Regions from separate parts of the Homo sapiens genome. Here regions 1 and 3 are each linked to region 2. Evidence: promoter capture Hi-C in human tissues and cell types (Jung and others, 2019). All regions are on one chromosome and are shown on one strand. The core of a region is centred on a gene start or on the middle of the fragment in contact, and the rest is flanking DNA. Distances in the headings are between cores, read along the strand shown.

Region 1 (2,700 bases), core at 103-2,602, 73 kb before region 2:
ACTAAACAAGTTTTCTTTTTGAGACAGGGTCTCATTCTGTCGCCCAGAATGGAGTGCAGCGACGTGATTATGGCTCACTGCAGCCTCAACCTCCTGGCCTCAAGTGATCCTCTCACCTTAGCCTCCCCAGTAGCTGGGACTACATGTGTGCACTAGCACGCCTGGCTAGGTTTTCTATTTTTTGTAGAGACAGGGTTTCGCCACGTTGCCTAGGCTGGTCTTGAACTCCTGAGCTTAAAGCAATCCACCTGCTTCGGCCTCCCAAAGTGCTGGGATTACAGACGTGAGCTACCATGCCTGGCCTAAACAAGCCTTTAAGAAGAAACTTTACATCCAGAGGTAAAAATAACACAGAGAAGAAGAAAAAAAAAGGTCTTAAAGGATGTCAGATGAAGAAGGTTACAACAAAGTCATTTAAAAAAGTCATTAACTATTAACCAGCAAACAAATGGGCCAACTTAGAATGAAGTCTCTATCAACTTTAAATTTGCATTGGCCAGTGTTTCTGGTTCAAGTTCTTTGATGGAAGAAAAAGATGTCTACAAGAACCAGGCACTACATATACTGATACCCAGTCCCTAAGACAAAGACAAATGGTCTAGAGAGGATATCACTTACCTTACAAGGAAGGTAGACCTAAAGTGATTTCAGATTCTCCTGTGATTTCAGATCCCCAAAATTCCCTTACCTTTTACTGCTTTCTGAAAGTCCTCTAATAAGAGTAGCTTAATAAGAAGAGAAAATGAAGTAATAAATATAAATGCTAAGGCAATTCTACACTTTGGCATGCCATCACAATGATAACAATAGCAGTGCTTAGGTTTACAAAACATTTTCACATACAACTCATATAATCTTCACAATCATCTTGAGGTAAATAATGACAATAAAACTGATATTTATTGAGCACCACAGTGCCTGGCACTTAAGAGTCTCGTACAATTTTATCACTTAATTATTTCAACAACCTGTTGTGAGGGATAAACCATGTACCAATGTCAGACACAAAGCAAGATTTATATCCAATTATAACTGATTTTAAAACCCACATTCTCTAAATCTCCACATTATGGCAAGACTTGGAGACAAAACTATCAGTCCCAGCTCTATCATTTAACAGCTATGTAACCTCAAGAAGTCACTTAATTTTCTAAACTCTTCATCTACAAAATGGGAAGATTAATACCTGCTTCACCTATTTCAGAGTAGTTGTAAAGGTCAAGTGAGATGAAAGACATAAAAGGTCTTCTTCAAAAGCTCTAAAAACTACACAAACATTATCATTCCCTATTTTGAAAGAGACTGAAGTAAAGAGGAATAAAAACATACAATGGTGGGGAGATGCTGGTTTTTCTTGTTTGGTTTTTGTTTTCCGTTTAAAGCAGGTTGAGCACCAGCTGCCTGCCACTTGTGAGCTGGGTATGTGCCGCACAGGACAGTGCCTTGTTTAGGCGATGGTCACTTTGTCAGGAAAATCTACCAAGGAAGAAATTACCAAACCATGTCTTTTTTTCTGTTTATGGAGTAGTTCACAGCAAATCTTGAGTGTTTTGACTAAAGCATGGAATACAGAAAACAAACTTCAGCTAGTGCTTTAATCTCTGCTGAAATTCTACAGGTATGTGTTTTATAAGCAGTATATGGCAGGATTTTAAGCCAGTCTGAAAGTCTGGTTTTCAGTAGCATTATTTCTGACAGCTACATACTGCTGAATGTTCAACTGGTGAAACTGAAGGTCTTTTCACTCAGAAGAAATCAATCAAGAAGAACTTGCAGTTCGCAAGCTTCTGAGCTGCTGTGGATGGCCCTGGCTCTCCAGACTGCCCTTCCCACTGAGATCTCTCACATGGGGTCTCCTGCTGCTGCCACTCCTGACTCTCCTCCTGATGTGGTACCTCTCAGCCTTCCCCACTACAATGTGACAGAATATGTAGACTGGATGTACTTTTACAAGTATGAGCCAATTTACAGATGAGGCTTTCACTTCACATTTTGAGAGCATTCAAACTGCTCTGATCAAAATCCAATTCTGGTTATCCTAGTGACCTCCCACCCCTCAGATGTGAAAGCCAGACAGGCCATTAGAGTTACTTGGGGTGAAAAAAGTCTTGATGGCGATATGAGGTTCTCACATTTTTCTTAGTAGGCCAACGGGCTAAAAGAGAAGACAAACTGTTAGCACTGTCCTCGGACGATTAACATCTTCTTTATAGTGATGTAATCCAACGAGATTTTTTAGACACATACAAAAACCTGACCTTGAAAACTGGCCAGGCACAGTGGCTCACATTTGTAGTCCCAGCACGTTGGGAGGTCAAGGCAGGTGAATTACTTGAGGCCAGGAGTTTGAGACCAGCCAGGCCAATATGGTGAAAACCCATCTGTACTGAAAATACAAAAATTAGCCAGGCATGGTGACGTGTGCCTGTAATCCCAGCTACTTGGGAGGCTGAGGCACAAGAATTGCTTGAGCCCAGGAGGTGGAGGCTGCAGTGAGCCAAGATCGCACCACTGCACTCCAGCCTGGGTGACAGAGCAAGACTCCGTCTCAAACAAACAACAAAAACAACCTATTATGGCATTCAGGTGGGTAACTGAGTTTTGCCCCATTGCCAACTACATCATGACAACAGACACTTATGTGTTCATCAATACTGGCAATTTAGTGTAGTATCTTTTAAACTTAAACCACTCAGAGAA
Region 2 (2,782 bases), core at 130-2,629:
CACACGTGGCAATCACAGTTGTAGAAGAGGCCAAACGGAGCAGATCTGCCAATGACAGCCAGTACTAAACTCGACTGGATGCTGAGGGCCATTTCTGCTTTGAGTGAACAGTGCAGCCTGCTGGGTGGCCAAGGGAACGTGTACAAATCCACTTTGTTTAAAGGACCCAGAGAGTAGTCAGTTCTGCTAAACCTCATCTGTTTGTTCAGGGATTTTTGTCCTGGGGAGGAGTGGGGAAGAAGCGATTAGTCAGGCCAGGCTAGCTGGTATTAGTTTGCAGGCTGTGAGTGCGACTCTTCAGTCTCTGCTCCTCTCATCATTGCCTTTTCACCTACCTTTACCCTAAATTTACGTACACCTCTGCCTTCACAAATTCCAAGCGATTAACTGTTGTATTTAATCTCTGTCCCAAATCTCTCTGCATCATTCTTCTTTTGATTATGAAGTCACGAGGGCCCTTTGTTTATTTTATTTTTAAAACTTTTTTTGAGAAGGAGTTTAGCTCTTATTGCCCAGGCTGGAGTGCAATGGCACAATCTAGGCTCACTGCAACCTCTGGCTTCCGGGTTCAAGCAATCCTCCTGCCTCAGCCTCCCGAATAGCTGGGATTACAGGCGCGCGCCACCAAGCCCGGCTAATTTTTTGTATTTAGTAGAGACGGGGTTTCACCATGTTGGTCAGGCTGGTCTCGATCCTAACCTCAGGTGACCCAGCCACCTCGGTCTCCCAAAGTGTTGGGATTACAGGCGTGAGCCACCGCACCTGGCCTCAAGGGCCCTTAAATATTACTTAGTTGTTCCATTATTTGGTGTGTTTTATTATTTGGTGCAGGTTTTTTCCCCTTATCTAGTTTGAATGTTGCTGAAGGACGCTGGTTTTCAAACGGTAAGGAATCTCCTGATAAAGGCACGAATCTTGGTGTGCAGATAAGCCAGCGATTCTTGCTTCTGGCTAGTTCTACGTTGTTCCTGGATGGTCAGTTCAAACTGCAATGATCCACAGCTCCAGAAGCGGCTTCTTCCAGTCGGCCTAGGAGCCAAACGCCCCTGCAGCTCCATGCTACCACGCAGGGTGCCGTTTCGGGCTTGCAGGGAGTTGTCGCAGTCCCGTTTTGGCTGCACATTCTACTGCTGGGGTGGAAGTGTCAAGCAAGATGTTGTCGCCGGTATCATGATGTCCGGGTGAGAAGCTTCCTTGGCAGGTTGCCAGGGCCAGCCTGCGAGCACTGGCGCCGGGGACCCGCGCGCCCGGGAAGGGGCGGGGAGGTGGGCGGAGCCTGGCAACCTGGGGACCACCAATAGGATGCTCAGCCGGAGGTGGCCCTGCGCGTGACGCAGCGGTGCTCGGAGGCAGGGGGCGTAGGGGCCGGGCTGTCCGGCGCTTTAGCTTAGCAGGCGACGTTGCGGGCCCTGGGCGCCAGGAGAGCTTCCCGGAGTCGACCTTCCTGCTGGCTGCTCTGTGACCGCTTCCCGGCTCTGCCCTCTTGGCCGAAGTGCCCGCTGCCGGGCGCGGGCCTCAGGTAACGGTGGTGCTCCCGCGCCTCTCCTCGCTTCCCGCTTGGGTCCACCGGCCTCAGCCCGCGGGGAAGGGAGAAGCGGTGGCGGCAGCAGCTCCGGCCCGGCCTTGTCCTGGGCTGTGCTGCGGAGAAGGCGAGGCTCGGCGACTGCAGGGGAGTTGGGGAGGGGAGGGCGGGAAAGTTACCGTCAGGCGCCCGGGTCACGGGCAGCCTTTTAAACCCTGCACGCTGGTTTGGTGTTCCGCAAATCTCGTGGCATCTCTCAAGTCAGTAGTAAAGAAAGTTAGGAATTAGAAGACGTTTTATTCTTTAAAAAGCGAAACCAAAAATGCACTCAGGAAGTCAGCTTTTTAATGATTTAGAGAAAATGTGTGAAGGGAAGGATGGTATTAGCAAGACATGAAAATCTGTAGGGGCACCAGAACCTTTAATCAAGCTCATGTTTTATTGTAAAATATTAGGATGTAGGTAAGTTTCTGTTTTCCCTAAGTGTTAATGGTCATGTAATTTAAATAATATGTATATTGAAAGGTTATTTCTAAGTGAGAAACAACTATATAAACTTTATTCTCCGTATATATATTTAGGTTAAGTTCGTTGGTCACTTTTGTTTGTTTGAGACGGAGTCTCGCTGTGTCGCAAGGCTGGAGTGCAGTGGCGCAATCTCGGCTCACTGCAACCTCTGCCTCCCGGGTTCAAGCGATTCTTGTGCCTCAGCCTCCTGAGTAGCTGGGATTACAGGCGTGCGCCACCACGCCCAGGTAATTTTTGTAGTTTTAGTAGAGACGGGGTTTCACCATGTTGGACCAGGTTGGTCTCAAACTCCTGACCTCAAGTGATCCGCCCGCTTCGGCCTCCCAAAGTGCTGGGATTACAGGCGTGAGCCACCGCGCCTGGCCTGTTGGTCACTTTTTAATATTTAAGTGGCTGCCACCTGTTTAAACCACTTTTTTCTTTTTTTCAGCCTGCTTGATTTCCTCTTCCTTGAAGTAGAATTCAATTTGAAGCTTTTTTTTTTTCTTTTTAAAAGTTGGGCGGTGTCAGTGAATGACTTGTTAAGGAAGTCTGTGCGTTGTCTGGGTGTGAGAATGGGTTTTGGAAGGAGCTCTGTGGCACTGAATTATCGTTTAGAAATGCACGTGTTTTAGTGAATCACATGCTTAGAATGCATCTGAGGTTTCGCAGTCTTTTAGGATAAAGACCTACTGAGTGAGCACACTCTATCTCTGGTTCATTTGGCCCACTTTCCTTCTGGCTTTCCAGGTT
Region 3 (2,860 bases), core at 128-2,627, 110 kb before region 2:
AAACTCAAGAGTTAGCCACTGAATAAAAGCAAGTTAGCATGTAAAATAGTACAACTGTGATATATATTAATACTATATTCTTTCATTCAAGAAATATGTCTTGGCTGGGCATAGTGGCTCATGCTTGTAATCCCAGGACTTTGGAAGGGCGAGGCAGGGGGATGACTTGAGGTCAGGGGTTCAAGACCAGCCTGCACAACATGGCGAAACCCTGTCTCTACTAAAAATACAAAAAAAAAAAAAAATTAGCCAGGTGTTGGTGGCACACGCCTGTCATCCAAGCTACCTGGGAGGCTGAGGTGGGAGGATCACTTGAGCCTAGGGAGGTTGAGGCTGCAGTGAGCCATGCACTCCAGCCTGGGTACTGCACTCCAGCCTGGGTGACAGAGTGAGACCCTGTCTTAAAAAAACAAAAAAAAAAAGGGGGGAAATACTTCTGGACCACCTACTGTATGCCAAGGACAGGCTATATTTACAGGCCCACCTGTACTTTAGTATGGCTACAGCCTCAGGAGCATGTATGAGATTGGGAATGCACCAAATTATGAAAGCTTTGGATGCTCTGTTAAGGAGTTGGGACCTCACTCTGAAGATGGTAAGAAATCAATAAAAGCTGGTAAGCAAGGAAGCAATAAGATCAGAGTTGTATATACCCTGACTCAGGCTTTCTTATACGTTCCCTCTGAGGAGCTGCCACGAAGGTTCTAGAGGAGAGGAAGGAGCTGATATGTCCCATGTTTCACAGATACTGAATGAGACTCTGCTGCTAAGGCCTACCACCTCTCTACCCCCATGTTCTATCATCAGACTTCACTAGTGGAATAAAAAGGTCCAGTACCAGTAGCAGGTAGGAAACAGAAAAGTAACAGAGAAGAAAGAGAGTTCCCGTGGCCAAGGTGCATAAGGGTCACCTCCAGGGAACTATTCATATTTTAAACAGAACATTATACCAACAAAATAATAGAGGATATTAAAACATCTGATAACAAAGTAAATTTTATGTTGTGTTTATTTTATCACAATTTAAAATAATTTTTAAAAGAAAAAAACCATCTGAAATTTAGGTGAAACATTTTTCTATTCTGTCATTTAAAATGATAAAGATCAGTTCAGAGTATACTTAATAATAATTCCCCCATTCTTCCTTCACATTTAAAGAATTCTTCCAAGTCCGCCCCCTACCACAAAGCTAAATGTGCAAAAATGCAAAAAGCGTGATAATTATTTCATTGGGGGAAAGAAGAGAATCATATCCCAAATGGACAACATCCAATAACCAACTATCCTTTAGACTTGCAATGGTGCAAACTGCCACCAAAAAGAACACACATGGATTTGGACACATTCTAACAGTACAGCTGTCTGTCCAGGCATGCTGCTGAAAGAACAGTACATTCCTTCTTGTTCCATCTTCCACCCACCTTAAGCCCCATTATGAAACGGAGTTTAAACAAAACTATCATATTTAAGCCTCTAATATATGTGTGTTTTCAATAAGATCAGCTAGGTAAAAATAGTGGCAGTAAACCCCTCCAACATTGCCCTAAGATTAGAGTCTGAAGATTTCTGAAGAGGAAAATAATTTTGGTAATGTATATTTGTCAAAAGTTTCAACTTGAGATTGCAATCTAGGTGCAAAGATAGGGAAATAAGTTACTAACTTTCAGAAAACTGATATAGTATGGTAGAGGAGTGAGTATTGAGAATCAGAGTAATGGGATCTGAGTCCTAAATAACTAGCCTATCAGCAGCTTTGTGACCTTGGGAAAACTGCCCAACCTCGCTGAGCTTCAGTTTTCTCATTTATGAAACATGCTTAATGATGCTTACACTATCTATATCATGGTGCTGCTGTGAAAAGCAAAGAGCTAAATGTAACCCTAACTCAGCACACTCTAATGCACCCTGTCAATAATCTCAATTTCATGCAACTCTTTTTGAATACCATGTTTTATATTTCCAGCTCATTCTTTCTAATACACGAATTCATATAATCTTGTGACCCCACCAGATCTCCCATCTACTGACCGCTATCTTTGAACTATCTTTTTTTAATTTTTATTTTATTTTATTTTTATTTTTGAGACAGAGTCTCACTCTATTGCCCCGGCTGGAATGCAATGGCATGATCTCGGCTCACTGCAACTTCTGCCTCCCAGGTTCAAGCAATTATCCTGCCTCAACCTCCTGAGTAGCCGGGACTATAGTCACGTGTCACCAGGCCCGGCTATTTTTTTTTTTTTTTTTTTTTTTGTATTTTTAGTAGAGACAGGGTTTCACCATGTTGGCCAGGATGGTCTTGATCTCCTGACCTCATGACCCGCCTGCCTCAGCCTCCCAAAGTGCTGGGAATTACAGGCGTGAGCCACCGCACCCAGCCTATCTTCAAACTATCTTTTCACTGTTTCTCACCCTGTGAAGTCCTCTCTTCCCTCCTTACCAGCTTAAGTTCCATGGTCCATCATTATAATCACTTGCTCCTCTCTCACTTGGACATACTCACTTTGCAGAACCACAAGCTGGGTAAATTCAACTATTCTCCTACTCCTAAAGTGAAGGTGGCTGGAGAAAAAAAAGCACAAAACCAAGCTGACTGGCCTCACTTTTAACTCAGAACCTTTAGCCTCAAATGAGCCCTTAACACTGCCTGGTGATCATACTGTATTTCTCTAGTCCATTCACTTTCCCACTTTCTAGACAATTATATGCTCTCCTCTCTTTTCAAACTCCTAATAGCTTCCTTTCTTACTAAGCCAATGACCTGGCTTAGAAAATTAAAGTAATCAGAGAAGATCTTCCAGCATATTTGACTTTCTGTTTCTGAGCTGTTTCACTTAAGATAATGGCTTCCAGTTCCATC

The links. The method cuts DNA at HindIII sites, captures the fragments that hold promoters and counts their contacts. A contact is called where the count stands out against the background at its distance.
Region 1: a contact is called between a fragment that was not itself captured here and the fragment with the promoter of SOAT1 in region 2, in 2 of the 25 tissues and cell types used here (adrenal gland and aorta).
Region 3: a contact is called between a fragment that was not itself captured here and the fragment with the promoter of SOAT1 in region 2, in 6 of the 25 tissues and cell types used here (H1 embryonic stem cells, IMR-90 fibroblasts, aorta and 3 more).

The regions. Positions count from the first base shown.
Region 1 is chr1:179,219,041-179,221,740 of GRCh38, forward strand. All of the region lies in intron 1 of ABL2 (ABL proto-oncogene 2, non-receptor tyrosine kinase), which reads right to left. It also overlaps the pseudogene LOC100499223. Among named protein-coding and RNA genes, the nearest start is that of ABL2, 9.3 kb to the right of the region's middle. The HindIII fragment of the contact is 5,519 bases long and covers 1-2,700 here.
Region 2 is chr1:179,292,418-179,295,199 of GRCh38, forward strand. It overlaps SOAT1 (sterol O-acyltransferase 1), which reads left to right and starts at 1,380. Exons shown (of 16, transcript NM_003101.6): 1 at 1,380-1,519. RefSeq lists a silencer at 1,175-1,364 and an enhancer at 1,577-2,084. The HindIII fragment of the contact is 6,238 bases long and covers 290-2,782 here.
Region 3 is chr1:179,179,717-179,182,576 of GRCh38, forward strand. All of the region lies in intron 1 of ABL2 (ABL proto-oncogene 2, non-receptor tyrosine kinase), which reads right to left. Among named protein-coding and RNA genes, the nearest start is that of ABL2, 49 kb to the right of the region's middle. The HindIII fragment of the contact is 8,582 bases long and covers 1-2,860 here.